Regions from separate parts of the Homo sapiens genome. Here all the other regions are linked to region 1. The links are contacts of gene promoters, found by promoter capture Hi-C in blood cells and fetal thymus (Javierre and others, 2016). All regions are on one chromosome and are shown on one strand. The core of a region is centred on a gene start or on the middle of the fragment in contact, and the rest is flanking DNA. Distances in the headings are between cores, read along the strand shown.

Region 1 (3,619 bases), core at 1,053-3,552:
GTTCAATAAATGATGTTGCATGGAGTAGCACAATGCCACCTGATAATGTATTTTCATTTCATTCCGAATAGCTATTGTTTTCTGTAGCTTTATAATGGTCTCAATATTCTTGATTATATAGGCCAGAATATGTGGGCTTTGGAAATATTTTCAATAATTAGATTTTGTTTTCTGAATGCAGGAATTATACAGTGATTATTCCTTTACTTGTGCTCTCAAAGCCCTTCCTATATACTGCTACTATAATGATATATTATATTACATTATATGTCATATCGTAACTACTTCTACATGTACTTGCCTCTAACCTGAGGTTGCAAGCAACTCAAGGGTGGGATTTTTCTTCTCGATTTTGTACCCTCAGAACACTATACTTCTGCTATGTAGTAGTGACTGTTTATTAACTCTTGAGGGATTGGATGATAATCTGAATTCCGTTTGTCTTTTTTCAGCCATACTTTTTTTTGAAAAGTGTCAATTCATGAAAATGATGTTAATATTTGAGAGCTTATGATAAACTTATTAAACCCATCTACCTAGTAAAATAATGTATTGAACTTAATACCACAACAAATAGATACATTTTAAAGTTTAGCTCAACATACTCTATAAAGATTAATATATTACCTCTGTGTATATTGCAATGTTCTGTTTCTTTTAAAAGACACCAGTAACTTTAAAAATGTTTTTTTTATTTAAGTAGCACAAACTCCTTAAGAGACATGGGCACATTATCCCTCTCAATCCTAGAAACGTGAAGGAGCAGGCCATACCACCTCAGAATCCAGAGTGATGTGTATGGGTCTATTATACATGTTTATAAATGTTGCCGGGTCCATGAATTCTTCGGATTTGCACAAGTACTTTATGATTTGTTCTGGGAGGAGTAGGTCAGGTGCAACTTGGTGTAAGTTATCGCCTGGTCCTTTAGTGCCTACTTTCATAGTCTGGCAAAGGTAGAGTGACAGTTTATGAGTTTGTGTGAGAAAATCTGTGATGACCTCCTTTAGGGACTGTGACTGTGTCACATCGTCGAGATACATAACTGGAACTTTTATCACTGAAACATGCCATTGCATAAAAAGCCTCATTGGAATGTTATGAGAAATGACTATAATTTTCATTTGTTGAATAAAAAATACTGTTTCATCTTTGACATGGCCAATATAATCTAAAAGAACTTTGTAGAGAGTGTCGCTGGAGGACTCGAGGATATGCAGAATGGAAGTGGGATAGATGAGCAGCAATCCTGTCACTGCTTCTCCTAGGTGATGTTTCAAAACTGACTGAAACATTTGTTCATAGTAGTCAGCAACATCTTTTCTTTCTACATTTGCTTGTATCTTGGCCACTAGAAACATCCTATCAAGAAGGAATTTCTTTAGGTGTAGTCGTTGTTTCTCTTCTTGAAAGTGCAGGTAATTGCTACGTGGGACTTGGAGAAAAAGAAGAGGTTCCAGTGGCAAAGGCCTTTTGCTGCCCTTCTGGTTATGGACCGAAAAGGACATGAGGAGTCTTATTTATTTTTCCAGATGATTCCAGCTTTTAGCTTATCATAATATTTATGCTGCCAGGGTACCTCTTTACTGATGAACTCGTGTTTTTATTTCTTCTGACAAAAAAAAAAAGAGTAAATCACGGTTTGTCAAATGTTACTAAATAGTAAAATCCCAATCTTTTGCCAGTTTTATCAGGAAACAATGTATTTGAAATGAAAGACAATGTTAAAACAATACTCAAACTATAGACTTTTTTAAAAGTTTACAACGAAAGAGTTAAATAATATCCTAGGAAAAAACTTTGTAAATGTCATGTAATGGTGATTACAGATTGTCCTTTATAAGCCAAATTTTTTAAAAATGGTATTTTATGGTAATTCTTCCAGTTTCTTTTACAAATCTAACTGATCTATAACTTTTAAAAAAAAATCCAAGGCTTTTTAAGTCCTAATTAGCTTATGTAACCTTTAGTCATGTCACTAATAGTTAATAATGTTCCTTGAATAATAACAGTAAACATTTCAAGGGAAAAGTTTTGGTTCTTTGTTTTTTCTCCTATCGACGAATCTCAGAAATGATTCATTTCTCCCCCCTTTATTTGTTTTCTTGTTGTTTTTGTTGTTGTAAGGGCTACATGAAAGTATTCTGCTACTTTAACTTACTCTGCTTACAAATCTCCTCAATTTTTTTTTCCAGGTCAACTTACCATTTTTCTTTTTTTTCCTGTGCTTCTGTCACGCACCTGTCCTCGAGGCCCTACTTGTCCTCCATCAGGCTCCCAACTGCCAGTCCTCTGGTGTTCTCAGCTGTCCTGTGTTCTGCCTTCCCTCGGGCATACGTGAGTCAGAATGTCAGCACCATTAAAGGACCAGAGCGCCAAGTTTCTTAATACGGGTATCTCGACAAACACTTCAAAGTCACTGCAGAGGAAGTGTGAATGGCTTATTCCTGAATGGTTTATTTTTAGTCAGGTGCATTTGTAAGTCAGACAGATGGTGAGAATCTGGACATCTTTTTCCTTTCTTTTTTTCCGTTTGATAAATAAAAAGTATGGTTGTAGAACTCCTCTGTTCTACTTAGACACTAACTAAAGACTTCAGGAACACATATCTGAATCTATCTAATGGTGAATATATGATGAGAAAGTTCTATAGTAAGATTTGGCTTACTTAACTTAATGTGATTTTAAGAGATGCACCTCTTAAAATTGTGTCTTAAGAGATGCATCTCTTAAAATTGCATCCACATGAGTTCTAAACAGTAATTTTAAAACAAGTTTAAAAAACGTTTATTCAATTTTTAACAATGAAACCTAAGAATAATTTTTTCCCTGAGTTCTGTATTATCCAAACTAATGATCTAATTTTAATGATAATACAATGATAAATTATCCAAGTAAATGAAGGCAGAGAGGTGACTTAATAATTAATTAATTGTGTAATACATAAAAATGGACTATTCTTCCTCATTGTGATTCACTTTATCACTCCCTGAAGCAATACAATCTTTCCGAAGATGTAAACCATGGTGCCAAACCATGTCATTGCCCAGTCTAGTTATTATCTCACTCTCATTCTTCTTACAGCTTTGTTGGAAGAAAGTGTCCATGTTGACCAGAGCCTTCATTATGGCCTTCTCTCCTCTCCTGGTTTCTATGATACTGCACTTTCTTGGATTTCTTTCTAAATCTCTGTATGAGGCCTTGCCCGGCAATACCTTCTCACATCCAACTCTGGAAAATACTTAGGCTCTGCGCTCATGATGTGGTTGGATCTCTCGCTCTACTTCTTTGCCCAGTTAGCTCAGCACCATCTATATGTCTCTTTTGTGAGGGCAGGTAAGTGGTCCTTAAAGCCACTCTTGCCACTAGATTGCACGTTTGAAATTGGAAATTGATCATGGGGCTTTCCTTCTGAGCTTACCTGTGGACTAAAAATATTTTTCAATCTGAGTCTCAAGGTAGACACAACTAGTTAATTGGGGTTGAGAAAGAAGAAAAAACTGAGCTCCCATTCTAGATTATTTTTGCACAGAAAATTCTCAAATTATTATCTCCAGTCACTTATTCACAACTCTTCTCTCCTTGGATGTAACTCTGTCTTTTCAAATTTAAAATGAAA
Region 2 (3,823 bases), core at 910-3,409, 1.4 Mb after region 1:
AATCTACTATTTACATCACGACTTACATTTATTTTGTGTAAATAAATCTGCATAAATCTTATTTGCACTTGTTACTAATTTATCGTTTTCACCAAACTGTAACTTCTATCAGGACAGGTAAATATATCTGTCTTCTTCACCACTGTTCCTAGAGTGCCAGCCAGGGCATATAGAAGTGGCTCAATATTTTTGAAGTGAATGACTTGCTAGAGCAGCATTTAGGCAAACTAGTGCCTAAAGTCACACATTTTGGGAACTACCACTCTAAAGTTATTTAATTGTATAATAACTTCAAAGGAAAAAAATGTGTTAATGCCCCTAGGCCACTAGAGATCCATTTAATAATTATTGCTTCGCTTCAGTTGAGTCACTTACTACTTTAGGGAACAGAAGAGATTTCTCAGAGAGCACCTCATGACCTGGAAAAGTCTTGCAAAATCATTTTCATACTCTGCATCTCCAGCTGAAAAACAATGATAAAATTAGTTACCATGGAAGTTAAAGGAATCATGCTTTGCATTAACACCAACAGTCTTCTGGAACACATTTGGTAACATTAGATTTCCCATCAAAGATATTTGTTTATTTTAATAGTTCAAGCATGAAAAAGAGATATCCCTTTTGGAAGCTGCAAATTGTTGACTCACTGATTCTCATTTAGGAAAAGGGATTTCACATTACTTTATCTATTTTCTCAATAGTCAAAGCCCATGTTAAGAGAGCTTTTAAACATATTTAAAATATATGGCTTACCTACATGTTTTACATGATAATTTATGGTTATAGAAGTTAGAAAGTGCAATTTCTTTTAATATCCCCGTGGGGAAGTTATATAATTCTATAGTTTTTTAAAATATATGGAAAAGCAATATACTTTCCGTTAACTGCTAAGATTCATGAATTTTCTCCACAAGTTCTCCAGAGGAACTACTAGAAAAAACTCCACGAATCTCATTATTTGACAGTTTTGTTGAAGTGAAATTATTAAAATTGATATTAGATTTAATGACTTGTTTCCAGTAACCAAAATGGAAAGTATTCTACCAGCTGTCGATGGTTCCACACCCTGACACATCGTTAAAACCTTAGCTTCTGCCTAAACTTTAAACCTTAATAATATTTGGCGGTAGGGGAGGGGTTACATTTCAAGTCAAACAAAGGATGTATTTCCAAAGCAGCATTTACAAAGGTTAATCTGTGTATGGACTACAAAGGGGAAAGTGCAGTGCCCCAGTGATCGATCTAAGACCCCCCTCTCGTTGTTGTTGTTGTTGGGTTTTTTTGGTCTGGTTAATAAACCACCTAGAGGGATAATTTTTAAACTTAATTTGTTGAAATGGTACTTTACTAATGTATGAAAAAAATTTCCCCAAATTTGAGAATTTTTGGTAAGTTGATTTTATATTTGGGAATAAAGATCTCTTGCTTCTTCTACTGACACCTTCTACACAAAAGATAAAAGGTACTTTTACTTGGTAATCCGCAGGGAGAAAATTTACAGAAACCCAGAGCCAAAGGTGCTCTCAGGGGATCCCCTGAAACATTCAAAGCCATTGCGGCCCCAGAAGGTAAATGGCTTTCGCAGGAACACAGGTCTCCTGACTCACGGCCTAACCTTCCTTTCCCCCACACCAAAGCTCGCGCGGCACCAGCTAGAGTGAAGGTCAAAGTCAACAGAATAATCTCTGCAGTCCAGGGTCTGTGAGGGTCCTCCTATCCGAGGGAGTTTTCATGAAAGGGCATTTCCGAACATTTTATTCCAAGGACACAGTCTAGTCAAAAGACGTTTGGGATAGGGTAAACATGAGGCAAAAGAACACTTACAAAAGAAAAAAGCGCAGTTTCTTGGAGGCTTGTCAGAAGCTAAGACTGGGGAGATGAGAACCAGGGCCCTTGGCGAGAGTTGGGGTGGGAATCGCGTAAGAAAAGCAATTTCTAGAGCGGAAAGGTGACCCCACATTACAAAAAGAAATGGAGTAGAAAAATAGGCTTGACTATTCTAAAGCTGCTTCAGAAAGAATCTCCGGAAGACCACGGAGGAACCCCGCAGGGGAGCCAGGCGGATACTCAGCCGCTCGCGGTAGAAGGGCGCGCAAAGCTGCGGAGCCGCGTGTGTGGAGCTCCCCAGTGCACTCACTGCTGGCTCCCCCTCGGTGCTCTGGGCCCTTCCCAGCTCCCTCCACACAGCCCGGCTCCCTTCACACACCCCCGCCCCCTCCGAGCTCCCCGACTCCTCCCCGCGCTCCACGGCTCTTCCCGACTCCAGTCAGCGTTCCTCGGGCCCTCGGCGCCACGAGCTGTCCGGGCACGCAGCCCCTAGCGGCGCGTCGCTGCCAAGCCGGCCTCCGCGCGCCTCCCTCCTTCCTTCTCCCCTGGCTGTTCGCGATCCAGCTTGGGTAGGCGGGGAAGCAGCTGGAGTGCGACCGCCGCGGCAGCCACCCTGCAACCGCCAGTCGGAGGTGCAGTCCGTAGGCCCTGGCCCCCGGGTGGGCCCTTGGGGAGTCGGCGCCGCTCCCGGGGAGCTGCAAGGCTCGCCCCTGCCCGGCGTGGAGGGCGCGGGGGGCGCGGAGGTGAGCGGGTCGGGGAGGAGCGCGAAAGAAGGTAGCGGCGGCGGAGTTGAGGGTCAAGATGCAGTCTGCGCCACGCGCTGCATCCATCCTCCCCGATTCTGCGCCCTCACCGGGCGTCCGCCCTGAGCTGCGGGGTCCCTCATCTCCTGGCACCTTAAGGTGGAAAGTGAGAAGGGTGGAGAAGGGTGTCTGTTCCACTGATTCCCCCTCCTCCTCCTCTTGGTTCCTAGAGCTAAGGGCAAGTCCTGAGGTTGGGCCCAGGAGAAAGAAGGCAAGGAGACATTGTCCCAGGTAGGATGTGTCCCAGCAGGAAAGGACAGGCAGGTTACTTTCGCCCCCTTGATAGTCTCCCTGCTACTTTGGGTTGATGCAGGGCATTTCATGGAAGATCATGCAGTGCTGCTTTGCGAACAGGTATTTCTAGCAGTCATTTGGTTTATTTCCCAGTAATGTAATCGTGGTGTTTAGGCCATTTCTGTTAGAAAGTAATTGGCCTCTTCTTTGACTGTCCTAAATTATCTTTGAACCCTGTGTTCAGCCTCAGCCAAAACTTGTTGAAAATTATGCCCTAAAAATCTTGCTCTTAAAATAGAGCAGAGAGATAAAGAGCATTTTTGTTGGAAGATTTCCATTTATTATCTCTCCCACCCCGTGGAGAAGGATTGGTGTCAGTTTTTACTCCTCGGGCAGTTAGTTTTTTAGATGGAAAGACAGTCCAGGCCATAGTTAATTATCGCTCATCAGTATAGGAGAAAAAGAATTCAGACTCCTGCCCCACCCCCACCCCCACCCCCAACCTCCTGACTTAGATTCTGGTCCTTTTAACAGCCCCGCTGCTTGGAACCCTTTTTGTTTTCTAAACCACCTCCCCATCCTTCCTTTTCTCCACTTTATTATTTCTTCATTTTATTGATCTGTTTATTTTTTCTTTCTTTAACCCTATAATTTTTTTACTCCGATTCTCTCTTGGTTGCTTCAAAGCTTAGAGGCTATTTAATGGAAAAGCAAAACAAAACAAAACAAAACACCCGTCCTAAATAATTTGCAGGATGTTTAGAAACATAAAGAGTAACTATGTGTGCTGCCATTGGGATGGCTGCACTCTCTGCCTCTTAGCTAGTCACTCTGTCAGGGTATGGGGAAATGAGACAATATTGAGAATGACAACTTGAGCAAATTGTGCAGTAAGGAAATGAAAAGCTTTATCCAAGTCACTTTTTATTGTACTGGTGCTATGGAAAATGTGGTGAATG
Region 3 (3,757 bases), core at 1,112-3,611, 1.6 Mb after region 1:
GCCCATCAATCAATGAGTGGATAAAGAAAATGTGGTATGTATATACCATGGAATACTACTCGGCCATAAAAAAGAATGAAATAATGGCATTCACAGCAACCTTGATGGAGTTGGAGACCATTATTCTAAGTAAATTCAGGAATGGAAAACTAAACATCATATGTTCTCCCTTATAAGTGGGAGCTAAGCTGTGAAGACACAAAGCCATAAGAATGATATAATGGACTCTGGGGACTTGAGGGAAAGGGTGAAATTGGGGTGAGGGATAAAAGAATACACACTGGGTACAGTATACACTGCTTGGGTAATGGGTGCATCAAAATCTCAGAAATCACCACTAATGAACTTATCCATGTAACCAAACACCACCTGTTCCCAAAAACTATTGAAATGGTTTTAAAAAATAGAAAAATAAGCTTAGATGAAAAAATATTCAAAAAGTAGAACAATATTGACAATATAATTACATGTATGTAGAAAAACTATTTCCCTGCAAAGGCACAGAAAATATCTGAAAGGACACACACACACACGCTTGTGCACATACAATTATTAACAGTGGATACTTTCAGGGAATTCATATAGGATATTGGCAAGATAAGCAGAATTTTACTTTTACCTCTATACAGATACAGTTCTCTACTACTTGAATGTATTATCATGAACACACATTTCTTCTGTTATAAAAATTATTTTTAAAATAATATTTAATATCATGGGAAGATATTTAATATCTATAGTAAACTGAAAGAGCAAGTTATAAAATGGTAAGTAAAATATGATCTTCCTTTGGAAAATAATATTTTTTTTTGAGATGGAGTTTCACTCTTGTCACCCAGGCTGGAGTGCAGTGGCATGATCTTGGCTCACTGCAACCTCTGCCTCCCGGGTTCAAGCGATTCTCCTGCCTCAGCCTCCCGAGTAGCTGGAATTATGGATGCCCGCCACCACATCTGACTAATTTTTTGTATTTTTAGTAGAGATGGGGTTTTGCCATGTTAAAGCAGGCTGGTCTTGAACTCCTAACCTCAGATGATCTGCCCACCTTTGCCTCCCAAAGTGCTAGGATTACAGGCGTGAGCCACCACGCTTGGCATAGAAAATAATATTTATGCAAAGAAGAAAGATTGGATGGGTATACACCAAGATGTGAACAATGATCTCAGAGTGTGTATTAGTCTGTTCTCATGCTGCTAATAGAGATATACTCAAGACTGGGTAATTTATAAAGGAAAGAGGTTTAATGGACTCACAGCTCTACATGGCTGGGGAGGCCTCACAATCATGGCAGAAGATGAAGGAAGAGCAGAGGGACATCTTACGTGACAGCAGGCAAGAGAGCTTGTGCAGGGGAACTCCCATTTATAAAACCGTCAGATCTCGTGAGACTTATTCACTACCATGAGAACAGTATGGGGGAACCACCCCCATGATTAAATTATCTCCACCTGGGCCCACCCTTGACACATGGGGATTATTACAATTCAAGGTGAGATATGGGTGAGGACACAGCCAAACCATATCAAAGTGGATGAATTTGGATGATTTTTATTGTTTTCTTTTGCACGAATCTTGATTTTCTAAACACTTTTTATCCTTTAAGAGTTTGATTCATCAGGCATTTCTTAAAAAATGATATACTTCATTAGTACTCTTAAAAAGATAGATCTCTGATTCATGGAGCCAGAAGATAACTGGATACAAAACTATCTGATGTGAAAGTTATTTCTTCCACCAAATTTCAGTCATGTAAGAGCTCTTAATTTTTGGATTTATCTTCTATACATGGCTGACTTCATCTATATTTTATGTGGAATAAGTAGCAAATACTTCTGAGCTTCTTCAAAATGAAGTGGAAAGTAAAATATAAAATGAGTGAAGAAATCAGAACAAAGAAAATATGACAGAAGGAGAGAGAAAATGAAATCACAAGATGAACTCTACCCCGTAAGGGCCAGCACTTTTTTTGAGGGTGATCTAGTCATGCATCACTTAATGGCAGGGATATGTTCTGAGAAATGCATCCTTAAGCAATTTTGTCATTGTGCGAACATCATGGAGTGTACCTACGCAAACCTAGCTGGTATAGCCTACTACACACCTAGGCTAGATGGTATAGCCTATTGCTCCTAGACTAGAAACCTGTACAGCATGTTACAATACTGAATGCCACAGGCAATTGTAATATGACAGTAAGTATTTGTGTATCTAAATATATCTAAACATAGAAAAGGTACAGAAAAAATATAAAAGATAAAAAATGGTACACCTTTATAGGACACTTATGAATGGAGCCTGCAGGACTGGAAGTTGCTCTGGGTGAGTCAGTGAGTGAGTGGTGATTGTGAGGGCCTCACACATTATCATACACTACCGTAGACTTTATAAATGCTGTACACTTAAGCTACACTAAATTCATAAGAATAAATTTTATTTCTTCAATAATAAATTAATCTTAGCTTACTGTAACTTTTTTACTTTTAACACTTTAAATTTTTCTTTTTGACTCTTTTGTAATAACACCTAGCACATTGTACACAATATTTTCTGTCCTTTTCTGTAAGCGTTTTTCTTTTTTAATAATTTTTTTAACTTTGTAAAAGTTTTTGTAAAAAATAGGACACAAACACATACATTAGCCCAGGCATACACAGGGTCGAAATCATCAGCATCACTGCCTCCAACTTCTACATCTTGTCCCGCTGGAAGTTCTTCAGGGGCAATAACAGGCATGGAGTGATCATGTCCTATGATAACAATGACTTCTTCTGGAATACCCCCTCAAGACCCTGCCTAAGGCCGGTTTATAGTTAACTTTTTAATATACATAATTAGAAGGACTACACTCTAAAATAGCAATAAAAATCAGAGTACAGTAAATACATAAATCAGTAACATGGTTGTTTATTATCGTTATCAAGTATTACATTGTATTTAGTCTGTTTTCACACTGGTACAAAGAACTACCTGAGGCTGGGCGCAGTGGCTCACGCCTGTAATCCCAGCACTTTGGGAGGCCAAGGCAGGCAGATCACGAGGTCAAGAGATAGAGACCATCCTGGCCAACATGGTGAAACCCTGTCTCTATTAAAAATACAAAATTAGCCGGGCGTGGTGGTGTGTGCCTGTAGTCCCAGCTACTCAGGAGGCTGAGGCAAGAGAATTGCTTGAACCCGGGAGGTGGTGGTTGCCGTGAGCTGAGATCGTGCCACTGCACTCCAGCCTGGCGACAAAGCGAGACTCCGTCTAAGAAAAAAAAAAAAAAAAAAAAGAACTACCTGAGACTGGGTAATTTATGAAGAAAAGAGGTTTAATTGACTCACAGCTCTGCAGAAAGCAGGCTGGGAGGCCTCAGGAAACTTACAGTCTGGTGGAAGGAGAAGGGAAAGCAAGCACATCTTAGCATGGGAAAGCAGGAGAGAGAACAAGAGAGCAAAGGGGGAAGTGCTACACACTTTCAAACCATCAGATTTTGTGAGAACTCACTCACCATCATGAGAACAGCAAGGGGGAAATCTGCCTCTGTGATTCAATCACATCCCACCAGGCCTCTCCCTGAGATGTGGGATTACAATTTGACATGAGATTTGAGTAGGGACACAGAGCCAAACTATATCATACATAGTATACAGAATTGTATGTGTGTTAGTTTTATATGACTGGCAGCCAATAGTTTTGGGTACACCAGCATTACCACAAACATAAGTAATATGTTGTGCTACAATATTACAAAGTCCAGGACATCACCAGGCTATAG

Evidence for each region. The method cuts DNA at HindIII sites, captures the fragments that hold promoters and counts their contacts. A CHiCAGO score of 5 or more calls a contact.
Region 2: a contact is called between the fragment with the promoter of STEAP2-AS1 here and the fragment with the promoter of TEX47 in region 1, in 14 of 17 cell types (naive CD4 T cells, naive CD8 T cells, activated CD4 T cells and 11 more). The highest score is 19.8, in naive CD4 T cells.
Region 3: a contact is called between a fragment that was not itself captured here and the fragment with the promoter of TEX47 in region 1, in 1 of 17 cell types (total B cells). The highest score is 5.1, in total B cells.

The regions. Positions count from the first base shown.
Region 1 is chr7:88,793,435-88,797,053 of GRCh38, forward strand. TEX47 (testis expressed 47) reads right to left here and starts at 2,303. Exons shown (of 2, transcript NM_152706.4): 1 at 2,206-2,303; 2 at 672-1,612. The coding sequence starts at 1,508. The coding sequence ends at 747. The region is part of intron 1 of ZNF804B (zinc finger protein 804B); the gene reads left to right. The HindIII fragment of the contact is 9,842 bases long and covers 1-3,619 here.
Region 2 is chr7:90,209,476-90,213,298 of GRCh38, forward strand. It overlaps STEAP2-AS1 (STEAP2 antisense RNA 1), which reads right to left and starts at 2,160. Exons shown (of 3, transcript NR_110029.2): 1 at 1,825-2,160; 2 at 376-463. STEAP2 (STEAP2 metalloreductase) reads left to right here and starts at 2,265. Exons shown (of 6, transcript NM_001244944.2): 1 at 2,265-2,570. RefSeq lists a silencer at 2,368-2,427. The HindIII fragment of the contact is 5,296 bases long and covers 1-3,549 here.
Region 3 is chr7:90,438,411-90,442,167 of GRCh38, forward strand. No RefSeq gene overlaps it. Among named protein-coding and RNA genes, the nearest start is that of PTTG1IP2, 29 kb to the right of the region's middle. The HindIII fragment of the contact is 3,894 bases long and covers 415-3,757 here.